Linked DNA regions of Homo sapiens: region 2 is linked to region 1. The links are contacts of gene promoters, found by promoter capture Hi-C in blood cells and fetal thymus (Javierre and others, 2016). All regions are on one chromosome and are shown on one strand. Each heading gives the region's core, a stretch centred on a gene start or on the middle of the fragment in contact. The rest is flanking DNA. Distances are from core to core; before and after follow the strand shown.

Evidence for each region. Contacts are between HindIII fragments. The CHiCAGO score rates a contact against its expected background, and 5 or more counts as called.
Region 2: a contact is called between a fragment that was not itself captured here and the fragment with the promoter of EDRF1 in region 1, in 2 of 17 cell types (total CD8 T cells and total B cells). The highest score is 8.3, in total CD8 T cells.

What each region holds. Positions count from the first base shown.
Region 1 is chr10:125,717,715-125,721,361 of GRCh38, forward strand. EDRF1 (erythroid differentiation regulatory factor 1) reads left to right here and starts at 1,995. Exons shown (of 25, transcript NM_001202438.2): 1 at 1,995-2,201; 2 at 3,490-3,647. The coding sequence starts at 2,094. EDRF1-DT (EDRF1 divergent transcript) reads right to left here and starts at 1,779. Exons shown (of 5, transcript NR_033847.1): 1 at 1,708-1,779. RefSeq lists enhancers at 1,111-1,220, 1,701-1,780, 1,896-2,878. The HindIII fragment of the contact is 5,171 bases long and covers 1,197-3,647 here.
Region 2 is chr10:121,921,749-121,925,395 of GRCh38, forward strand. ATE1 (arginyltransferase 1) reads right to left here. Exons shown (of 12, transcript NM_001001976.3): 2 at 2,518-2,581; 3 at 601-663. Among named protein-coding and RNA genes, the nearest start is that of ATE1, 4.5 kb to the right of the region's middle. The HindIII fragment of the contact is 223 bases long and covers 2,287-2,509 here.

The DNA.
Region 1 (3,647 bases), core at 745-3,244:
GGAGTCTCGCTCTGCTGCCCAGGCTGGAGTGCAGTGGTGCAATCTCGGCTCACTGCCAGCTCCGTCTCCTGGGTTCACACCATTCTCCCGCCTCAGGCTCCTGAGTAGCTGGGACTACAGGTGCCTGCCACCAAACCTGGCTAATTTTGTTTTTGTATTTTTAGTAGAGACGGGGTTTCACCGTGTTAGCCAGGATGGTCTCGATCTCCTGACCTCGTGATCCACCCGCATCTGCCTCCCAAAGTGCTGGGATTACAGGCGTGAGCCACCGCGCTAGGCTGCATATTGGCTTTTTAAAATTTCACTTATCACTTAACATTATATGATATGCAATTTAAATGTTCTTAAATATTCCTGAAAAACAAGTTTATGGTTGCACAGGGTTTATTTTCTACCAAAACCAAATTTGACTATCCTCCTCCTAGTGTTAGATATTATGTTCAACTTTTCACCATAAAAAACAATGCATAACTTGCAAAAACCAAAAAAGAATTATTGGCTGCAATATTCAAATGAAATGATAAAAATCAAAATCAATACATGTTGAAGTAAATGTCTACAAAATACACTATTATATCAAATTAACTGTTAAATTTAATTCACTATTATTATTTTTTTAAGACAGAGTCTCACTATCGCCCAGGCTGGAGCGCAGTGTTGCCATCTCTGCTCACTGCAACCTCTGCCTCCCAGGTTCAAGCGATTCTCCTGCCTCAGCCTCCCTAGTAGCTGGGATTACAGGCGCCCACCACCACATCTGGCTAATTTTTGTATTTTTAGTAGAGATGGGGTTTCACCCTGTTCGTCAGGCTGGTCTCGATCTCCTGACCTCAGGCAATCTGCCCACCTCGGCCTCCCAAAGTGCAGGGATTAAAGGCGTGAGCCACCGCGCCCGGCCTGTTAAATTTAATTCATAAAATTGTTTTGTTACATTTGAAAGCAATTTGTGAGTTGAATGCTTACTCATCAGGAGCATTCCTGAAAACGGACAGGACAGTGAGTTGTAAGAGCCAAACGTGAATTACAAATTGAGACAGCCAAATTGCAAGAGCCAAGTTAATTTTTAAAAACACTTTCTGTATCTTACGGCACAACAAAACACTTTTACTACAAAACATGTATTGTATAACGGATGTGGCTGCGTTTGACAGTTTGAGATGACACTGAGGAGTGTGAAAGAGAGCCTGGACCTTCAAAGCTTGCAAACGGCCCGGGCTATTTCTCCACCTCTTCGCTACTCAAAGCGCTGGCATCGTTTCCTGGGAACCTGTGAGAAATGCCGAGTCTCGGACCCATCCAGAGCGCCCGAATGGAAACCTAGGCGTTACGAGGCCCCAGGTTCAGCGTCTCACGGGTCCTGCACCACCTGGGACGCCCCGCAAGCAGCGGGCATGCCGGGCCCCCAGAAGACTCCGAAAGCCACCCATTCCCTAAACGGGGAGGGCCTCGTCCGCGCGTCCCAGCGCCCTCCCCGGAAGCCCCGCCGCTCCCACACCCAGGATGGGGCCACATGGGCACTAAAAGGCGGGCAGGAGCGCCCAGTCTCGAGATGGCTGGCTCGCCTTTCCAGTCCGGGCCCTCGGGGTGCCCGTGTGAAAAGATGTGACACTGAAGCCTGGGGAAGAAGTTTGAACCTCTCACTAATTCACGTAACGGGAGCCGCCGGCAGCGCTGACGGCTGCACCTCCCCTCCCACGCGGACACTACCTGCAGGATCGGACGACCCCCAGAACTGTTTGCCAACAAAGACATGCAGGGGGCGGAGCCTGAGCGTCAGATACCGTGAGCGGCGTGCAGAGGGCGGAGCCTAGGAGTCAGATACCGCGAGAAGTAGTCTCCCGAAGAGGTTCGGACAAGCGCAGGCGCACTACAATTCCCGCCCTGGCCGCGAAGGTGGCACCCGCAGCGGGAGGCGGGGCCGGGCCTTCGGGACAAAGATCGCGAGATTTAATGGCGAGTCACAGCTACTTCTTCCTGGCAGAGACCGGAAGTGCGGTCCGCGGAGCGTCTCTGGCGCTTACCCTGCTTTGGGCCTGCGTTGCTGCTGCTGCTCCTCCGCTCCCCCGTCGTATCGCCTGCCCTGGATCGAAGTGATGGGGGATGCCAAGGAGGCCGGAGCCGAGGGTCCGCCGGCCGGGGCCGCCGCTCGAGGAGGGCTCAGCCTCCTGTCCCAGGGAGAATCCGAGGAATCTTCTGCACAGGTGAGTCCTCCGCGGAGGGGGACCTGCCAGGGATGTGGGAGCGGAGGACCCGCTCCACCGGGGAGGGATGCCACGGTTCCCGGCAGATTCTGGAGGCTTCTCCATGTTTCCCTGACACCCCCAAAACAGGGAGTTGAAGTCCATGCTCCAGTCGGCAGGTATTCGTATTAAAAGCAGTTCTGGTAGCCGACAGGTGAATTAGATACGATCTTTCCTCTCAAGGAGGGTACATGTAAATATGTCGTTCCAAAACGTGGCACAGTCGTGCAAAGCAGGAGGGAAGAAACGGTGCCAGGTAGTGACTCGCCGAGAATGAGACCGAACTAATTCACAAAGGGTGTAAAATGTTTGCCATGCAGAAGAGGTACTGCGTGAAAGGTTAGAATATTGAACCCAGACGCCGAACTTGCTTTGGGAGTGTGCAAGTGCAGGCTGTGAGGAACGAACCCCCAATGCCTTTCTATGAAGTTAGAGACTCAAGAGTATTTGAACCATGCATGCATGCATGAACCGATGCATCGATTACTAAATATTTGCATTAAAACAAAAAGCCCAAATGTTCTACCAGACTATTTTATGAATGATGTGTTATTAAAATTAAAATACATCTTTGGCCGGGCGCGGTGGCTCACGCCTGTAATCCTAGCACTTTGGGAGGCCGAGGTGGGTGGATCACCTGAGGTCGGGGAGTTCGAGACCAGCCTGGCCAACATGGCAAAACCCTGTCTCTACTAAAAATACAAAAATTAGCCGGACGTGGTAGTGCACGCCTGTAATTCCAGCTACTAGGGAGGCTGAGGCAGGAGAATGGCGTAAACCCCAGAAGCCGAGGTTGCAGTGAGCCATGATTGCTCCACTGCACCCTAGCCTGGGCGACAAAGCAAGACTGCGTCTCAAAAAAAAAAAAAAAAAGAATTAAAATACATCTTTAATACTGAAAATAGGCTTTACTAAAGTTTGCATCTAGTTAACATGATACCATTGAGTCTCCTTGGTTTCTGCTTCTCCACTTTACATGAATACATTTTAAAAGAGATGTGGGTGGTCCATTTTCTAGCTGATAACCATAACCATCATACTCCTTGACTCATCTTTTTTCTTTGAAGTTGGTGTAAAAGAACTAAGTAAATGTTACCATTTATGCTCAAATTTATTAAGTGCTGTTAGTAACATGTGGCATACGTTCCTTGTGAAGCCTGGTGTGACAGGTTCTTGTTTTCTTTTTATAAAGGTGAGATTTTTCGTTCTTAGTAATTTTCATTAAAGTTTCACCCAATGTGTTAATTAGGGATCAGCTTTATTTCTTGGAGGCAATGAAGTGAAGAGCCGAGCTGTGGTGAAATACTCTTCTGCCCCTCCTCGAACAGCATTTGCACGCCTTGAAGAGAAAACAGACTTGAAACTCCCACCTGCCAACTGGTTACGAGAGAGTGCCAAACTAGGGCC
Region 2 (3,647 bases), core at 1,148-3,647, 3.8 Mb before region 1:
ACTGTAAGCTTGCTTCAAGCTAGCCCACCCCCTTCTGTGAACTGTGTATAAAAGTCTTTGTTCCGGGCCCAGTCTTTTAGACGTTGAGTCAGCTGGGCCTAAGTGCACTCAATAAAGTTTCTCCTGTTTTAACCCGAGGTCTCTCTTGTCCTCCTGAATCCCACAACATGAGAACGTGAACCTACCAAGTAATTTATAGGAGCCTGTAGCATTGCTTGAACACAAGCACTGTGTCAAGCAATACACCAGAATGCAGAAAATTCTAAGCTAAGTCCTATAATATTTAATATCCAAAAGTAATGTGAATATTTACCAACATTTTCCCAATATTTCATGGCATTCATTGACAAGATTGCTAAATTAAGAGGGTATTTTTTTCACATATTTATATCTGAACCAATCAAACAATATTACTAAAACCTACTGATCAGCACATAAATACAGCATCAGTATGAAGAAAAGACATAACTCATTTACTTTTCCTTTTAAAGGACATCTACCTAGAGCGGAAATAAACATTAAAAAAGCACAAGAGACTACTAAAATATTATACACAATCTTCATACTATAAATCCTCTTTCTACTAATTAAAATTCTTACCTTATTGTGTACTGAGGACAACATGTTTGATTCATGACAGGTTTGTACACATATTTTCCACTTCTAAAATTATAAAAATAGTTTGTTAATGTCTTATATATTTTTCACTTGCACCAAAACAGCCTAGCACAGGAGCATTAAATTAAGGTTAAAAATCTAATCAACATTGTAGAAATGCATGTAGGTTTAATTACTCTTCATAAGCCAAATAATCTTCAAAGTGCGTGTAGCAAAGTTTAGAACCCTGCCTTTTATTTCCTAAAGCTTTACTTGTGTACCCCACGGCCAATCATCTCAGTTCCCCTCTCACCAGCATCTGCCACCCCTGCTCTGCCTTCACCTGCCACCAATCCCCAATACCACAAGGGCAATGAGAGAAATGCCCACGATGCTGTGGGACTCATGTATGTGATGCCTGTGACAACCACACTTGGGTATTCCACATGCACCAGCACGGAGTACCCCAAAACTAACCCGCTTCTTTCCATGCATTCCAGGTCTATGGTACTAACAGAACTGTTCATTCTGTTCTCAAGTCAGAGACCTGGGAGTCATTTTAAACTCCTCCCTGGAATTCACCTCTATATCCTATTAGCAAGCTTTCCTTCATTTTAAACCCTATCCTAAATTGTCCCCTCTTCTCTATCACCATTGCCACTAAGGTGACAGTCCTCATCATCGCACATCTGGATAGCGCAATAACCTTTGAACTCATCTTCCTGCCTCTATGACCCCCCCTCAAATACCTCTCAGCCATCTGAACAATCTTTTCTAAAACAAATTCCTTCACATTTCTCTCTTACCATAAAATCCTTCCATGACTGCCTTCTAAAAAGTTCTGGCCAGGCATGGTGGTTCATACCTATAATCCCAACACTTTGAAAAGCTAAGCTGGAAGAACACTTGCAACCAGATGTTCGAGACCAGCACGGGCAACATAGCCAAGATCTTACAAAAAACTGAAAAATTAGCCAGGTGTTGTGATGCACACCTGTAGTCCTAGCCACTGCAGAGGCTGAGGCAAGAGGATCACTTGAGTGTGGGAATTTGGGGTTACAGTGAGCTATGATGATGGCACTGTACTCTAGCCTGGGCAAGAGAGCGACTCTAGCCTGGGCAACAGAGCGAGACCATGTCTCTAAAAAAAAAAGTTCCTTATCATGGCATGTGAAGTCCTTTAAAATCTGACCTATGTCTACCTTTTGAATCTCATTAAGTTTAAGGAAAGTTGTGATATTTCAGCTGGTGCTCCCAATCCCACGTCTTTGGCAAGTATTAGCGTACAGTATTTAATATTACTTATATTTACACAAGGAACTTTACCTAAGAGTTACTTAAAAATCATCCACATAAAAATAACTACTCAAAACAGGCCATGTGTGGACTTTAAGGAAATCCTTATCCAAATAAACTGTTAAAGAAGACATTTTTGAGACAATCTGGAAAATCTAATAAAAAGTAGGTAACAGGTAACATCAAAGAATTTTTATTAATTTTGTAAGGTGTGATACAGCATTGTGGATAAGTTAAAAAGAAAAAAAGACCTCTCTCTTAGAGATACATACTTATTGCCTATCTATTGATAGGATAAATGTCATAATAACCTACTGATGTAATTTGCTGTTAAATATTAAAAGGTGGAGCAGGAGAATCAAACATGATTGGCAGAACGTTAATAACTGCTGAAGCTTAGTGATAGGTACTTGAGGTTCATTCTAATGTACTCTCTGCTTTTATAGATATTTGACATTTTCCTAACAAAGTTTTTTAAAAAGGAGACAAAAAATCACTACATAAAAGAATATAATAAAAATTTTTCTTAAACCTCTTTCCAACAGGAAAGCATTTCAAAGGCATGCTGTATTTTTCAAGAACCTGAGTAACAGTAGGAAGTCTCTTTGTATCTGGAAGCTTTACCTTCGCCATCCTCGGTCTATGAGATCCTGATAATCCTGTACTGTCATGGAATGTGCCCACATGCCTGAAAAAATAAGTAGTGTGTTAATTACGGCAGGGTAACCTTTTTTCTTTTTTAAATTCAAAGTGTGAGGTTTAAAAATAGGAGTGTGTGTCCGGGCACGGTGGCTCATGCCTGTAATCCCAGCACTCTGGGAGGCCAAGGCGGGCAAATCACAAGGTCAGGAGTTCAAGACCAGCCTGGCCAACATGGTGAAACCCCATCTCTACTAAAAATACAAAAATTTAGCTGGGCATAGTGGCGGGCGCCTGTAATCCCAGCTACTCAAGAGGCTGCAGCAGGAGAATCACATGAACTCGGGAGGCGGAGGTTGCAGTGAGCCAAGATCACGCCACTGCACTCCAGCCCTGGCGACAGAGTGAGACTCCATCTCAAAAAAAAAAAAAAAAATAGGAGTGTTTAGGTTAAAATTCCAAAACACTCATATTGGATAAATGAAAAGTTTGTACATACTTCACAGCTGTTAGTTGGGCATACACACAGCACAAATAAAGAATGACACTATATATATTTTCATTCAAAAAAACACATCGAAGTTAATTATATTTATTTGAGGATTAGTCAATAGTCTCTATGACAGCATAAATTTAAGTCCTCACTGCAATCAGACTGCATCAGACCTTCAAACTTTAATAAATATCCCCAATGATTTAACATGCTGGTCTCTTCAGAAAACTTAGCAAAATGTTTTGTGCTTATTAGTTCTCCTGATTTATATACAGGTATATATTTACAGTACAGTCTTGAGCATCAAAAATTGGAGAAAAGTATGTAACAATATTCCTTCTAAGTGTAAGAACTGAAAGTAACTCAGCTGGGCACAGTGGCTCACGCCTGTAATCCCAGCACTTTTGGAGGCCAAGATGGGCAGATCATCTGAGGTCAGGAGTTTGAGACCAGCCTGGCCAACATGGTGAAACCCCATCTCTACTAAAAACACAAAATTAGCCGGGAATGGTGGCACATGCCTGTAATCCCAGCTACTTGGGAGGCTGAGGCAGGAGAATCGCTTGAACCCAGGAGGCGGAGGTTGCAGTGACTCGAGATCGAGCCATTGCACTCCACACTC